Linked DNA regions of Homo sapiens: all the other regions are linked to region 1. Evidence: promoter capture Hi-C in 16 types of primary human blood cells and fetal thymus (Javierre and others, 2016). All regions are on one chromosome and are shown on one strand. The core of a region is centred on a gene start or on the middle of the fragment in contact, and the rest is flanking DNA. Distances in the headings are between cores, read along the strand shown.

Evidence for each region. Contacts are between HindIII fragments. The CHiCAGO score rates a contact against its expected background, and 5 or more counts as called.
Region 2: a contact is called between a fragment that was not itself captured here and the fragment with the promoter of CCDC17 in region 1, in 3 of 17 cell types (megakaryocytes, endothelial precursors and M2 macrophages). The highest score is 9.0, in megakaryocytes.
Region 3: a fragment that was not itself captured here is called in contact with the fragment with the promoter of CCDC17 in region 1 in 4 of 17 cell types (M0 macrophages, megakaryocytes, endothelial precursors and 1 more); the score reaches 6.9 in M0 macrophages.
Region 4: a fragment that was not itself captured here is called in contact with the fragment with the promoter of CCDC17 in region 1 in 1 of 17 cell types (M0 macrophages); the score reaches 5.1 in M0 macrophages.

Annotation. Positions count from the first base shown.
Region 1 is chr1:45,622,109-45,625,876 of GRCh38, forward strand. CCDC17 (coiled-coil domain containing 17) reads right to left here and starts at 1,946. Exons shown (of 13, transcript NM_001114938.3): 1 at 1,628-1,946; 2 at 1,449-1,544; 3 at 1,109-1,331; 4 at 847-1,009; 5 at 643-726; 6 at 441-559; 7 at 133-240. The coding sequence starts at 1,801. The HindIII fragment of the contact is 6,664 bases long and covers 1,048-3,768 here.
Region 2 is chr1:45,864,337-45,868,104 of GRCh38, forward strand. The region is part of intron 3 of MAST2 (microtubule associated serine/threonine kinase 2); the gene reads left to right. It overlaps LOC105378694 (a long non-coding RNA gene), which reads right to left. Exons shown (of 5, transcript XR_001738038.2): 5 at 3,548-3,635. Among named protein-coding and RNA genes, the nearest start is that of MAST2, 63 kb to the left of the region's middle. RefSeq lists a silencer at 3,401-3,695. The HindIII fragment of the contact is 3,271 bases long and covers 355-3,625 here.
Region 3 is chr1:45,848,269-45,852,036 of GRCh38, forward strand. All of the region lies in intron 3 of MAST2 (microtubule associated serine/threonine kinase 2), which reads left to right. Among named protein-coding and RNA genes, the nearest start is that of MAST2, 47 kb to the left of the region's middle. The HindIII fragment of the contact is 3,137 bases long and covers 291-3,427 here.
Region 4 is chr1:45,813,523-45,817,290 of GRCh38, forward strand. All of the region lies in intron 1 of MAST2 (microtubule associated serine/threonine kinase 2), which reads left to right. Among named protein-coding and RNA genes, the nearest start is that of MAST2, 12 kb to the left of the region's middle. The HindIII fragment of the contact is 1,637 bases long and covers 973-2,609 here.

The DNA of each region.
Region 1 (3,768 bases), core at 696-3,195:
AGGGATACACACGTGCAGACATGAACTAGGGGAGTCACAAACACGGGTCTTGTTCCCCATGCACTGTCTGCCTGAGCCAGGCCTGCTGGGGAGAGATAAGTGGGATGGGATAGGGTTGGGGTGCTCACTGACCCAAGGGTGCCCGACCCCTCTGCATTTGCAAGGCCAAGATTTCTGCCTCCAAGCGCCGGTTTTCAGCCTCCACTACTGGAAGCTCCCCTGAGGTGGCACCTGCCCTTCCTGCGATGAACAAGTGTGACCTGTCACCTTTGACCTCTGGTGACTGGCCGCGTCCGGCTGTGAGCAGCTCTCCAGCGCTAAGGCTCTTCGGATAAGGCTGGACTTGTCAGCTCACATGCCATCCACAGCCACAGGCCCTCCCTCGAGTTCTTTTCTCCTCCCAGGACTGACCACCGCTGGCGAGAGGCCCTCCTGTTCACCTCTGCGGGTCTGCGACCGCTGCAGCTCCAGTGCAGACGCCTCCACCTGCAACTGCCATATCTGGCCCAGCACGCCGGGGTCCCGGCCCCCGTCTCGAATGTAGGCCTCCCGCAGCGCCCTAGGGAGTGGGGAACAGGAAGGCCGTCTTTCCAGAACTGCTCAGCGCTTCGCCCTATGCCCATCTCCGGCCCCGGCTCTCACCGGATTTCGGCAGCCAGAGTTCCCGGGTTGGCCTTTTGCACTGGAGAATAAAGTTCTGCCTCTCGCCGGGAGCTCAGCGGGTTCCTGGGGTGGCAGGCGACGCGCAGGGAGACGGTAACGCATCAGAGGCCCCGGGGCTGCAGCCAGCCCGCCCCTCCCACCCCGGAGCCGCATGTTCCGGGGATCCGCTTAGTCGGGTCTCACCCTGGCTCCGCCTGCAGCTCCTGAATGCGGGCCCCCAACACCTCTAGAGCTCCCCGCGTCCTCCCGGCCTCAGCTTGTAGTTCTCGAATCTCCTGCTCCAGGCCGAAGAGGCGGGACATCCCGCCCCGCGTACAGGCCACAACTTGGAGGCGTCGGCTCAGTTCTGAGGGAATGCGGGCCGAGTCAGAACCGGCCCGAGCAAGCTTAAGCCAAACGGCGAGGGCAGAGGAGGTCCTTGGTCCCCGTCCCCCATCTCCTTCACCCTCGCCGCGTAGCTGCAGGGCCCGGCTCTGCGCTTCCATCTCCGCCACGCGCCTCGCGCGAGTCCTGAACAGCGCCCGCAGCCGCTCGCTGGGGCTTCCCACCGCCTCGGACATGGGACTCTGAGGCCGCGCCTCGGAACGTGTCCAGGGCCCCGCGAACACCCTGGGGACCTCTGTTATCCAGGGCCGCATTTCCTGTAGGGATAGCCGCAGCCACTGCACCTGGAGGTAACAGCGATCCGCGATCTCTGCGTGGGCAGAATCTGTCCCAAGTATGATCTACAGGTTTGGGGAAGACGCTCAACGTTTTGAGCCCTGGGGGAAGGTAGGTAGCTCTACCTCCTCTGTTAACCTCTTTAGAGCAGATCTACTGGCCTGCTGGTCTGGGAGGCCCTGGGGTTCTTGTGGCACGCCCTGGTGTTCTTGTGGCACAACCTGGGGATAGGGTGTAGTAGGATGAGGAATCATAAAGGTCCTGGCTCCTTTGAATCCCCACCCATGGCCATGGAGGCCCTTACCGCGGCCCGCTGGGGTTCAGTGGCAACTGATGCCTGTGCTCCAAATGTCATCTCTTGGGTCGGGTGGCCAATGCAGAAGCGCTGAGTATGGGTGGCTAACAGAGCTGAGGAGCGGAAAACCATGTCACAGGTCCCACAGGGCAGGAGCGCAGGCTCCCCAGAGTGGGAGTCCATGGGATGGGACCCGTTTCCTGAAACCAGCCAAGACCTGCAGAAGGGATCAAGGGCAGGGGAAAGGCAGAGGAGGATGAAAGAGACATAAAGCCAGAGGCAGAGAGGAAAGGCCGTGTCTATTAGGTCTGTGAGATCTTCAAGTTTGTTTGGGGAGAGCCTTAGCTCCCTGGACAGCAACCACAGGGCTGGGCAGGTCAGGAGAATGGGTGGGGAAACCTCGGCCGTTTGGGAGGAGCCACTGGCTTGAAAAAGTGTTACAAAGTCTGAACGTGGGCAAGTCTCTAATTGTAGCTTGGTTTCCCTGACTATTAATAAAGAGGAAAAAGCAGCTGCCTCCTAGACTAGGCTGGGCCCTTATCACTTACTACATCATTGGTCATTTAATAGCCTCTAAAAGGCAAGTGTCATCTTTTTCATTGCTGTACTCCCAAGTGGATGTAACAGTTTGTACCATTCTCCAATCCAGAGAACTACCTGGCAAAGGAGGCACTCTGACCTTTCCAGCATTCTGCCTGGAAACCATGTCGCACCAGGGATAGCAGTCTCCCTAACTCCCATTCCCTGATTCCTCATTTTTCAGCTGTAGACGAAGATAATCAGCACAGCCCAAGAAATGAAAGCTGTGGGCGAACAGAATGAATCTATCAGATGAGGGAATCAAGTCCAGAAAAAAACCCCTTCTCTCTCCCAAGATTGGCCAGAAGCCAGAAAGACCCTGAACTGTTGGTGAAATTCTTCACTCCACTCCCACTCCCAAAATATATGGAGGAGCTCTGAGGTGACCGCATATTTCTTAAGAAACCCTCTTTACTTTTTTTTTTTTCTTTTTGAGATGGAGTCTCGCTGTCGCCCAGGCCGAAGTGCAGTGGCGCGATCTCAGCTCACTGCAATGAGCTCTGCCTCCTGGGTTCACGCCATTCTCCTGCCTCAGCCTCCCAAGTAGCTGAGACTACAGGTGCCCACCACCACGCTTGGCTCATTTTTTGTATTTTTTAGTAGAGACGGGGTTTCACCATGTTAGCCAGGATGGTCTTGATCTCCTGACCTCGTGATCTGCCCGCCTTGGCCTCCCAAAGTGCTGGGATTACAGGCGTAAGGCACTGCGCCCGGCCAAGAAACACCCTTTTCTCTTCTTTTTTTGAGACAGTCTCGCTCTGTTGCCCAGGCTACAGTGCAATGGCACGATCTCGGCTCACTGCAAGCTCTGCCTCCCAGGTTGACACCATTCTCCTGCCTCAGCCTCCCCAGTAGCTGGGACTACAGGCACCTGCCACCACACCCGGCTTTTTTTTTTTTTTTTTTTTAGACGGAGTCTCGCTCTTTCGCCCAGGCCGAAGTGCAGTGGCACTATCTGGGCTCACTGCAAGCTCCGCCTTCCGGGTTCAAGCCATTCTCCTGCCTCAGCCTCCCGAGTAGCTGAGACTACAGGTGCCCACCACTGTGCCCGGCTAATTTTTTTTGTATTTTTAGTAGAGATGGGGTTTCACCGTGTCAGCCAGGATGGTCTTGATCTCCTGACCTTGTGATCCGCCCGCCTCGGCGTGCCAAAGTGCTGAGATTACAGGCGTGAGCCACTGCGCCCAGCCTTATGCCTGGCTAATTTTTTGTATTTTTAGTAGAGACGGGGTTTCACAGTGTTAGCCAGGATGGTCTCGATCTCCTGACCTCGTGATTCCCCCGCCTCGGCCTCCCAAAGTGCTGGGATTACAGGTGTGAGCCACCATGCCTGGCCGAAACTCCCTTTTCTAAACAAGACAGGGACTTAAGACATTTCCCTACTCAGTACCTAAAGCCAAGGTATGACCCACCAGCAGCAAGTTACAAAGTGTTCAAAGTATGTCATCTCAGTTCAGCTTAATTCCAACTGACATAAAGAGTACATTTTTAGAAATATGTTCTCAGAAAACAAGTAAATGGCAAAGCCCAAATCAAAACCTCCTTTTCAACAACTAAGTTTGTCCCAATTT
Region 2 (3,768 bases), core at 740-3,239, 240 kb after region 1:
CCCCCTCCTGCACATAAAAGAGCAGGGAAACCGACCTTAGCAATGATCTAGCTCCTGAAGAAAGAGGCTTTCGTTACTGTCCAAGAAGTGAAGACCAGTGAGTCTAGCGATAAAGAAACAAAAGAGCCCCTGACAGTATCGAAAGAATCTGACATTTGCTTTGTCTGTACAAAGGATGAAAGGAATTTTGCCGACTTAGTCAAAACAATAACTGGTTTTATATCATTTTGAGTCTAAAATACAGGCATCAGAATCGTATGTTTTTCTTTGTATTTCTGAAGAATTGTCATCTTTTTAAAAACGTATGTGGAGTGGTTTTGTTTCTGGAAAGGAAAACGTGACATGGATTTTATAAGCTTAGTAGCTGTAGGTGGAGACTCTTGTTTTGTTTGCTAAACCTTTTTAATAAGCAGCAAAGTCAGGATATCAAAGATTGGAATTTTTCCCCCGGAACCTTTTGTTCTTTTCTTAGTACTTCAAATAATTTCAACCAAAGGGGTATGCATGGAAAATGAAAACAAATATGAAGTCTTTCCGCTATTTGGCAGTGCTTCAGATGAGATGTATCTATACTTCTGTGAAGAAAGACGTGATTCTGATATGAGGCAGTGATTGTATACTTACGCTGGACAGAGGGATAACTGGTTTAGTGGAACAGTGGGTTAGTGGTGTGCTGAAAGGATTGTTTGCCTCTTTATCCAGCAGTAAGTAGGCACTAGTAGTTGACTGTCTGGGGAGTGGCTTTTTTTTGTCTGATATCTATTATGGATGATTCCAGTATTCTGAGAAGGAGAGGGTTACAGGTGAGTAAAAGAAAACCTTTTTCACTGATCTCCTTCCTTTTAATGTCTCTTGTAAATGTACTGAACAGATTGTTATAATGTATTTAATTCATTTGAGGTAGGAGGCAGAGTGGAGTGCAGCTAAGTTCCTCTTTATTCTTTGATGTATAGTTATAATTAGAGAACTTATCTAAAATCTTGCTATTTTGATAGAAAAATGCTGCTTGGGCTTATTTACACTGTATTTAGTGAGTAGAGCAACTAAATCAGACCTGTATGGGATACAAGCCTAATTTAGAACATTAGACATTACTGCTGACAGATTGTTTACGGTGAACATATTCTGTTCCTGACCACCATGCCTGATCTGCCCACCATTAAGTCACATGTATGGTAGTATATGCTTGATTCTATGCATAGTTTTAAGAACTTTTCTAAATTATCACTTGGCATATACACATTCCATCCACTTATCTATTGTCTGTCTGTGTTGTCTGTCCATCCATCCGTCTGTCTGTCTACCTACCTACCTACCTACCATCTTTTCCTTCTTAAATCATAGGTAGTTTGTTAGATGAAGAGGTATGTAAGATATAACAGTGAATGAAAATAGACTGATAGGCAACCTTCAACTGAGTTTTAATGAATATCCTTAGCACTAAAAGAATACATGCCAAATTTGATGATTATTTTTTTCATGCTTTGTAGATTATCTCATCTTAGTCTTGTTAGCAAAGAGCAAGCCAGCTTCTAGTCTATCACTAAATGTTTTTGAGAATTGACATAATGAAGATTCTAGTGTAAATCACTGAGCTAATCAATCAACCTGTGATGGTTTAGTCATGAAATGTAGCTATTTCTGTTGTTTTCATTTTGTTTATTTGACATTATTTATAAAGCACTTTTTTTGTACAAAATACCTAAGGATTTTAAAATTATCATGAATTAACATTATTTTAGTTTCTTTAAAGTTCTCAGGTAGAAAATGTATAGGATTAGTAAACTTAAAATATAAATTTAAACAAATTGTATTGTTTCTAGTTATTATATGTACTTCTTATTGATGGTGCTGTAAACATTCAGAGCCCGTAGGGAGAACCCACTGAATCTTTAGCAGTTGACCAGTATGACCTGGGCTTTAAAAGTCAATAACATAAACTCCAGCGCCTTATACTAATTTCTCCTGTTAGCACAGTTGATTCGATGAGATTTGTCCCTTGATTTCTTGGGGTTATTTTGAGTAGTATTTATTTAGTACTGTACTCAGATGACCTCTCATAAGTAGTGATGTATGTTCAAGCAGCTGCTAATTAAAAATGGCTGGCTCTGTAAGCCCATTTAGTTGCACTGCTTATTTATATCTTTATTTCTCTTTAGTTGCTAGGATTCAGAAAGGGAATCCTATTTGTTGAATGGGAAATATTTTCTGTTTTGTGTTAAATCATTCATTTTCTCCCTGATGCCTGAGTCAGTCTCTAGTATTTGCTACCTTGTTTACTGATGCCCTTCCTCTCGAGTCTTTGTTTCTATCTAGCAGGAGTTCTAAACTGCCAGATTACATAGCACTGGAAGATCTTTTCCTACAGCCTTATACTTATAAAAAATTTTTCCCCTATTTATTTTGTCTACTTTTTTTTTTTTGAGATGGAGTCTCACTCTGTCACCCAGGCTGGAGGTGCAGTGGCGTGATCTTGGCTCATTGCAACCTCTGCCTCCCAGGTTCAAGTGATTCTCCTGCCTCTGCCTCCGGAGTCGAGTAGCTGGGGCATTACAGGCATGTGCCACCACACCTGGCTAATTTTTTGTATTTTTAGTAGAGACGGTGTTTCACCATGTTGGCCAGCCGGGTCTCAAACTCCTGACCTCAGGTGATCCACCCGCCTCGGCCTCCCAATTGCTGGGATTGCAGATGTGAGCCACCGCACCCAGCCTATTTTGCCTATTTTTAAAAAATAAACTTTAAGGTTCATTCTCCAGAAGATTGCTTTGGAACATTCCAAAACAGAGCTAACGCTTGAAAAGCAGCAGTTTAGATTATTTGTTTTAAATAGTTACATTATAATATAAAGATTTAAAGGTAAGTTTTATTAATAGATTTATATAAATAAACACACAAAGGTAAAGTGTGCCTGGTGGTACAGGTAATCTACTGGGTAACCTCAGATTTGAAGGTGAAAATCCAAATAAATATTTGGCTTCGCTAATTGCTTTCTGGTGAAATAGATTTCCTAAAACTTTTCCAGAAGATCAGCTAAGACACAGCCTACTTTGATACCTCCAGGTTTTTCCGCAGAGTTTCTTGGGGAGGTAGCAGAATAGTAAATAGGGCATTTAGAAGTTCCGTGACAGCAAAGACCTTGTCTATTTTGTTCAAATTACAGTTCTGCCATGTTCTAGTCATATAACCACAGCCAAATTTCATTTCATTTCTGTACTCCACTGGTATATTGAGAGTAGACAGTGGAGGCAAGGGCTGCAGCAAAAAGACCAATTATGAGACTGTTGTGGTCAAAAAAAGCAAGAAATAATAACAGATTGGAGGGGTGATAGCAGTGGACGATGTGGAGGACTTTCTTATTGGCCATTTTTACAGATACGTGAAGCTCAGTAGCTTCCTCAAGGACAGACAAGTAGGTGTATGGCCAGGCTAGATGTATAGGTTAGGGTACTCTGAACTACAAGTAACAGAAATTTTGACTCTGAGTGGTTTAAATGTTAGGTAAATGTATTGACTCACAACAATGAAGTCCAGAGGTTGGATGGGTTTCAGAGTTGGGTAGTCTGGTGTATTTGCTCAGCTTCATTGCTCTTTTGCCTTCCTCTGTGTTTTGGCCTCATTCTCAAGCTTGCTTCCTATGTGTTAGAAAAAGAACTGTAGCAGTTTCAGTCTGCACAGTCACACACTACAACATCCCTACATCTTAATGGTAAAAGGACATCTGGGAGATTATGTGTGAGCATCTTTTCTTTACACTGGAGGAGCCTC
Region 3 (3,768 bases), core at 609-3,108, 230 kb after region 1:
TTGAATGGTAAACAGTTTCCTACACTGATAAAAATTTCCTTGAATGATAAGAGTGACTTACTGTGCAAACAATGTGATTTATGCTGAACATTTACTTACCTTCTGGGAGTCTGAAATTTTGGTATGTAGTAGGCAAGAGGGTGCCTGTGTGAGCAGCTCCATTAAAAACTTTGGACACTGAGTCTTTGGTGAGCTTTCCTGGTAGACAACATTTCATGGATATAGTTACTAGGTGTTGCTGGAAGAAATAAGTGTGTCTTATGTGACTTCACTGGGAGCGAACTCTGGGAAGCTTGTGCTTGGTTTCCTCCAGACTTTGCCTCATGCACCTTTTCCATATGCTGATTATATGCAGGGTCCTGTGAGTACTCCTGGAGGATCATGGAACCTGGGGATGGTTTTGGTGACCCCTGACACAGGTAGTCTTTGAAGGATTTATGAAAATAGTTAAGGGTATAGCCGGAGTAATCAGGCAAGAGAAAGAAATAAACGGCATTCAAGTAGGAAGAGAGAAGTCAGATTATCCCTGTTTGTAGATGACATGATTGTATGTGTAGAAAACCCCATCATCTTGGCCCAAAAGCTCCTTCAACTGATAAACAAATTCAGCAAAGTTTCAGGACACCAAATTAACATACAAAAAACCACTAGCATTCCTATCCACCAACAACAGCCCAGCTGGGAGCCAAATCAGGAAGGCAATCCCATTCACAATTACCACAAAAAGAATACAATACCTAGGAATACTGCTAACCAGGGAGGTGCAAGATTTCTACAATGAGAATTAGAAGACACTGCTCAAGGAAATCAGAGAAGACAAAAACAAATGAAAAAACACACCATGCTCATGGATAGGAAGACTCAATATCATTAAAATGACCATACTGCCTAAAGCAGTTTACAGATTCAATGCTATTCCTATCAAACTACCAAGAACATTCTTCACAGAACTAGAAAAAACGATTTTAAAATTCGTATGGAACCAAAAAAGAGCTTGAATAGCCAAGGCAGTCCTAAGCAAAGAGAACAAAACTGGGGGCCTCACGTTACCCAACTTCAAACTGTACTATAGGGATACAGTAACCAAAACAGCATGTTACTGGTACAAAAGGCACATAGATCAATGGAACTTTATTTCCGGCAGAAATAAAGCTGCACACCTATGACCATGTGATCTGTGACAAAACTGACAAAAACAAGTAATGATACTGGGATAACTGGCTAGCCATATGCAGAAGATTAAAGCTGGACCCCCTCTTTTCTTTTTTTTTTTTTTGAGATGGAGTCTCTCTCTGTCACCCAGGCTGGAGTGCAGTGGCGCGATCTAGGCTCACTGCAAGCTCCACCTCCCAGGTTCACACCATTCTCCTGCCTCAGCCTCTGGAGTAGCTGGGACTACAGGCGCCCGCCACCACACCCAGCTAATTTTTTGTATTTTTAGTAGAGATGGGGTTTCACCATATTAGCCAGGATGGTCTGGATCTCCTGACGTCGTGATCTGCCTGCCTCAGCCTCCCAAAGTGCTGGGATTACAGGCGTGAGCCACTGTGCCCCGCCCATATTTTCTTTATCTAGTCCACTGTTGATGGGCACCTAGGTTGATCCCATGTCTTTACTATTGTGAATAGTGCTGTGATTAACATGTGAGTACATGTGTCTTTTTGGTAGAATGATTTGTTTTCTTTTGTATATTTACCCAGTAATAGGATTGCTGGGTTGAATGGTAGTTCAGTTTTAGGCTCTTTGAGAAGTCTCCCAACTACTTTCCAGAGTGCTAAACTAATTTACATTCCTACCAACAGTGTATACGTGTTCCCTTTTATCTGCAGTCTTGCCGGCATCTGTTGTTTTTTTGCTTTTTGATAATAGCTATTCTGACTGGCATAAGATGGTATCTCATTGTGGTTTTGATGTGCATTTCTCAAATGGTTAGTATGTGGAGCATGTTTTCATGTTTGTTGGCTGCCTGTATATCTTCTTTTGAGAAGTGTCTGTTCATGTCTTTTGCCCATTTTGTGATGGGGTTGTTTTTTGCTTGTTTAATTGTTTAAGTTCTTTATAGAGTCTAGATATTAGACCTTTGTCAGATGCATAGTTTGCAAATATTTTCTCCCATTCTGTAGGCTGTTAACTCTACTGATTGTTTCTTTTGCTGTGCAGAAACTCTTTAGTCTAATTAGGTCCCACTTGACAATTTTTGTTTTTGTTGCAATTGCTTTTGAGGACTCAGTCATAAATTGTTTCCCAAGGTCAGTGTCTGGAATGGTGTTTCCTAGTTTGTTTGTTTGTTTTTTCCCTAGGATTCTTACAGTTTGAGGTCTTACATTTAAATCTTTAATCCATCTTGAGTTAATTTTTGTATGTGGTGAAAGGTAGGGTTCCAGTTTCATTCTTCTGCATGTGCCTAGCCAGCTATCCCAGCACTATTTATTGAATAGAGTCCTCTCCCCATTGCTTATTTTTGTTGACTTTGCTAAAGATCAGAAGATTGTAGGTGTGTGGCTTTATTTCTGGGTTCTCTATTCTGTTCTATAGGTCTATGTGTCTGCTTTTGTACCAGTACTATGCTTTTTTTTTTTTTTTTTTTTAAACACTGTAGCCTTATAGTATAGTCTGAAGCTGGGTAATGTAATCCCTGCAGCTTTGTTCTTTTTGCTTAGGATTGTTTTGGCTATTTGAGCTCTTTTTTGGTTTCATGTAAATTTTAGAATAGTTCTTTCTAGTTCTGTGAAAAATGACATTGGTAGTTTGATAAGAATTATGCTGAATCTGTAGATTGATTTGGACAGTATGGCTGTTTCAACAGTATTGATTCTTCTAATCCATGAGCATGAAATTTTTTTCCTTTTGTTTGTGTCACCTGTGATTTCTTTTAGCAGTGTTTGTAGTTCTCCTTGTTGAGATCTTTTACCTCCTTGGTTAGATGTATTCTTAGGTACTTTTTCTTTTTCTTTTTTTTGTAGCTATTGTAAATGGGACTGCATTCTTTACTTGGCTCTCAGCTTGAATGTTACTGGTATATAGAATTGCTACTGATTTTTGTACATTGCTTTTGTATCTTAAAACTGGGAAGCCATTTATCAGTTCCAGGAGCCTTTGGCGGAGTCTTTAGGGTTTTCCAGGTATAAAATCATATTGTCTGCAAAGAAAGATAGCTGGACTTCTTTGCTGTTTGGATGCCTTTTCTTTCTTTCCTTTGTGTGATTGCTGTGGCTAGAACTTCCAGTGCTCTGTTGACCAGCAGTCAGGAGAGTAGACATCCTTGTCTTGTTCCAGTTCTCAAGAGGAATGTTTCCAGTTTTTCTCATTCAGCATGATGTTGGCTGTGGATTTGTCATAGGTGGCTTTTATTTATTTTGAGATATGTTCCTTGGATGCCTAGTTTGTTGAGGGTTTTTATCATGAAGGGATGGTGGATTTTATTGAAAGCTTTTTCTACATCTATTCATCTGACTTCCTTTTTTCTGCTTGACCTAATAGAAAAAATTTTCAGCCCTACTTGAAATGAATTACCTGAGCTGAGGGACTGAGATTGCTGCTGGCAAATAGAATTAATGGACTATTTTTTAAAGAGGGCAAAAAGCTCCAAACAGAAACGTTTCTGAGATGTGTTGGGGCATTTTGGGAATAAAGTAACATGCATTTATAGGGAGATACTAAAATGAAAATATAGGAATTTCCTTTTTTTTCAGTTATTTAGCCTTTAAAAAAATACTTATGGTTGCATAGGAAGTTGCAAAAATAGTGCAGAGTACTATGAACCCTTCA
Region 4 (3,768 bases), core at 541-3,040, 190 kb after region 1:
AGTTTTGCTCTTGTCCCCCAGTCTGGAGTGCAGTGGCACGATCTTGGCTCACTGCAACCTCTGCCTTCCGGATTCAAACAATTCTTCTGCCTCAGCCTCCCGAGTAGCTGGGATTACAGGCTTCTGCCACCACACCTGGCTAATTTTTATATTTTTAGTAGAGACAGTGTTTCACCATGTTGGCCAGGCTGGTCTCGAACTTCTGACGTCAGGTGAGCCGCCCACCTCGGCCTCCCAAAGTACTGGGATTATAGGCATGAACCACTGCGCCTGGCCAGATTATAATTTTTTTATTAAAATTTTTTTTTAAATAGAGATGAAGTCTTGCTATGTTGCCCAGGCTGGTCTTGAGCTCTTGGCCTCAAGCAATCCTTCTGCCTTGGCCTTCCAAAATGTTGGGATTATAAGCATGAACTATTATGCCTGGCTTCCCATAAGATTATAACAGAGTTGAAAAATTTCTATTGCCTAGTGACATCTAGCTATTACAACATTGTAGTGCAACACATTACATGTTCATGGTAATGCCTGTGTAAAACCTACTGCACTGCTGTGGTATAAAGGTACAGCACATAGAGTTAGTGCATGCACAGCACATAATACCTAATGATGATAATATACAACTATGTTACTTGCTTATGTATTTACCATACTATACTTTCTACTGTTATTTTAGAGTGTACCCCTACTTATTAAAAAAAAAAGTTAACTGTAAAACAGCCTCAGACAAGTCCTTCAGTGTAATTCCAGGGAAGGCATTGTTACCATAGGAGATGACAGCTCCATGTCACCTCCATTATTGCTCCATTATTGCCCCTGAATACCTTCCCATGGAACAAGATGTGGAGGTGGAAGACAGTGATATTGATGATCTCGACCCTGTGTAGGCCTAGGCTAGTGCGTATGTTTGTATCTTACTTTCTAACAAAACAGTTTAAAAAGTAAAAAAAGAAAATTTTTTTAATAGAAGAAAGCTTATATAATAAGGATAATGAAAGAAAATATTTTGTATAATGTAAACACATACACCAAGGCGGGTGTATCACCTGAGGTCAGGAGTTTGAGACCAGCCTGGCAAACATGGCAAAACCCCGTCACTACTAAAAATACAAAAATTAGCCCAGCGTGGTGGCGCACGCCTATAGTTCCAGCTACTTGGGAGGCTGAGGCAGGAGAATTGCTTGAACCCGGGAGTTGGAGGTTGCAGTGAGCCAAGATCACGCCATTGCACTCCAGCCTGGGCGACAAGAGCGAAACTCTATCTCAAAAATAAAAAGAAAAAGCTATCTTGACCTTTGATTTGTTGGTGTTATTAAACTGTTCTTTTATTTTATTCAGCTTGAAAGGAGACTTTAATTTGTGCATTTTCCCCTTCAGGGAAACTTTTATGGATTTTTTTATTAAGTAACTGGCTTAGAAGATAGAATAGTCTCCCTAGGTTTTAGAATGTAATTAAGAAAAATTCAGCCCAAGGGAACCATGTGTTAAAATTAGGTGATACCATCTTAGTTGTACCAGCTTGAGTGTAGGTTCCTTAAGAGTGAACCTGAGTAGTAGATGCATATATCCTTTAACCATTAATTTGTTGGAGATTAATAAGCTACATCGTTTCTTTGCCGTTATTTCAGCAAAGCAGAAGTAATATAGTTTTGTCAGATCTTCTTTTTTTTTTTTTTTGAAACTGTCTCCCAGTCTGGAGTGCAATGGCGTGATCTCGGTTCACTGCAACCTCTGCCTCCCAGGTTCAAGTGATTCTCCTGTCTCAGCCTCCTGAGTAGCTAGGACTACAGGCACATGCCATCACACCCAGCTAATTTTTATGTTTTTAGTAGAGATGGGGTTTCACCATGTTGGGCAGGCTAGTCTTGAACTCCTGACCTCAGGTGATCCACCCTCCTCAGCCTCCCTAAGTGCTGGGATTACAGGTGTGAGCCACCGTGACTGGTCAGACTTTCTATCTGTTAGGCTTTCAGGAATGTTTTGAAAAGCAGAGGATTTAGAAATAGTTGTTAATAGTTTTTTTTTAAAGTCCTTAAGTTATTTCATAGGGGTGTTACCAAGGTGATTTTTGTTTAAATGACCCAGGAACATTTAAGTTCTACCTTTAACCAGTAAGAGAAAGTGATACTTTGTGACTAGCTCAGTCTTTGGTCTTTTATATTAAAGAACATTACTTGCTGTAACTGATTCACAAGGACCCCTTGATTGAGGTGCTTCCATTTTCTACACATGGCTTCCAAGTTCAGCTGAGGAAAGTGGAGGATGGGCCAATCCTAGAAATGGATTAATCACTTCCACTCATATTCCATTGCCAGAACTCAGTTTCAGGGCCATGCCTAACTACTGGAGGGCTGGGAAATGTCATGTGGCCTGTGCCTAGGAGGAAGGTGAATCATGCTTGATCAACATCTAACTAGTCCCTGCCACAGGACTCAAACCCCAATGTAGTCCTTAGCTTAGAACCATACAGAAATCCATTTATTTTGGTTATAGACAGCCTGGAACCATAGCCTCCTCTTTTTCCTTGTAGACACACAGAGTTTTGAGTTATAACAATTTTGAATGCAAGTAAAGGCCTTTTTCCCAAGCACAGATAGGAGATCTGGAAAAGCTTTTCTGCAGCCTGTGGCAGAGGTAGTCTCTGGCAACCCCAAGAAAGGCAGCTTGGTATTGGGGGTGGGGGGGAGAGAGAGAGAGAAAGAGAGAGAGAGAGAGAGAGAGACCCAAGTCCCTTCAAATACCTGGAAAGTCTTCCCAAGAATAACAGATGCAAACAAGCCCAGATCGCAAAGGCTACAATGTATATTTAACTCTTCAATGCCCAGACACTGACAAATACCCACAAGCGTTAAGACCATTCAGGAAAACATGACATCACCAAACAAACTACGTAAGGCACCAGGGACCAATCCTGGAGAGATAGAGATACATGACCTTTCAGACAGAGAATTCAAAATACCCATTTTGAGGAAATTCAGAGAAATACAGGATAACACAGATAAGGAAATCAGAATCCCCTAAGGTAACTTCAGCAAAGAAATGGAAATAATTAAAAAGAACCAAGCTGAAATTTTGGAGTTGAAAAATGCAGTTGATATACTAAGGAATGCATCAGAGTCCTTTAATAGCAGAACTGATTAAGCAGAAGAAAGAATTTATTTATTTATTTATTTTTTGAGATGGAGTCTCGCTCTGTTGCCCAGGCTGTAGTGCAGTGGCGTAATGGCTCCCTGCAACCTCTGCCTCCCAGGTTCAAGCGATTCTCCTGGCTCAGCCTCCCAAGTAGCTGGGATTACAGGTGTGTGCCACCACACCTGGCTAATTTTTTTGTTTTTTAGTAGAGACGGGGTTTCACCGTGTCAACCAGGATGGTCTCGATCTCCTGACCTCGTGATCCACCTGCCTCGGCTTCCCAAAGTGTTGGGATTACAGGCGTGAGCCACAGTGCCTGGCCCCAGAAGAAAGAATTAGTGAGCTCGAAGACAGGCTATTTGAAAATACACAGCCAGAGGAGACAAAAGAAGAAAAAGATAAAAAGGAATAAAAAGCATGCCTACAAGATCTAGAAAATAGCCTCCAAAAGGCAAATCTAAGCGTTTTGGCCTTAAAGAGGAGGTAGAGAGATAGGGGTAGAAAGTTTATCGAAATGAATAACAACAGAGAACTTCCCAAACTTAGAGAAAGATTTCTATATTCAAGTATAAGGTTCTAGAATGCCAAGCAGATTTAGCCCAAAGAAGACTATCTCAAGGCATTTAATAATCAAAC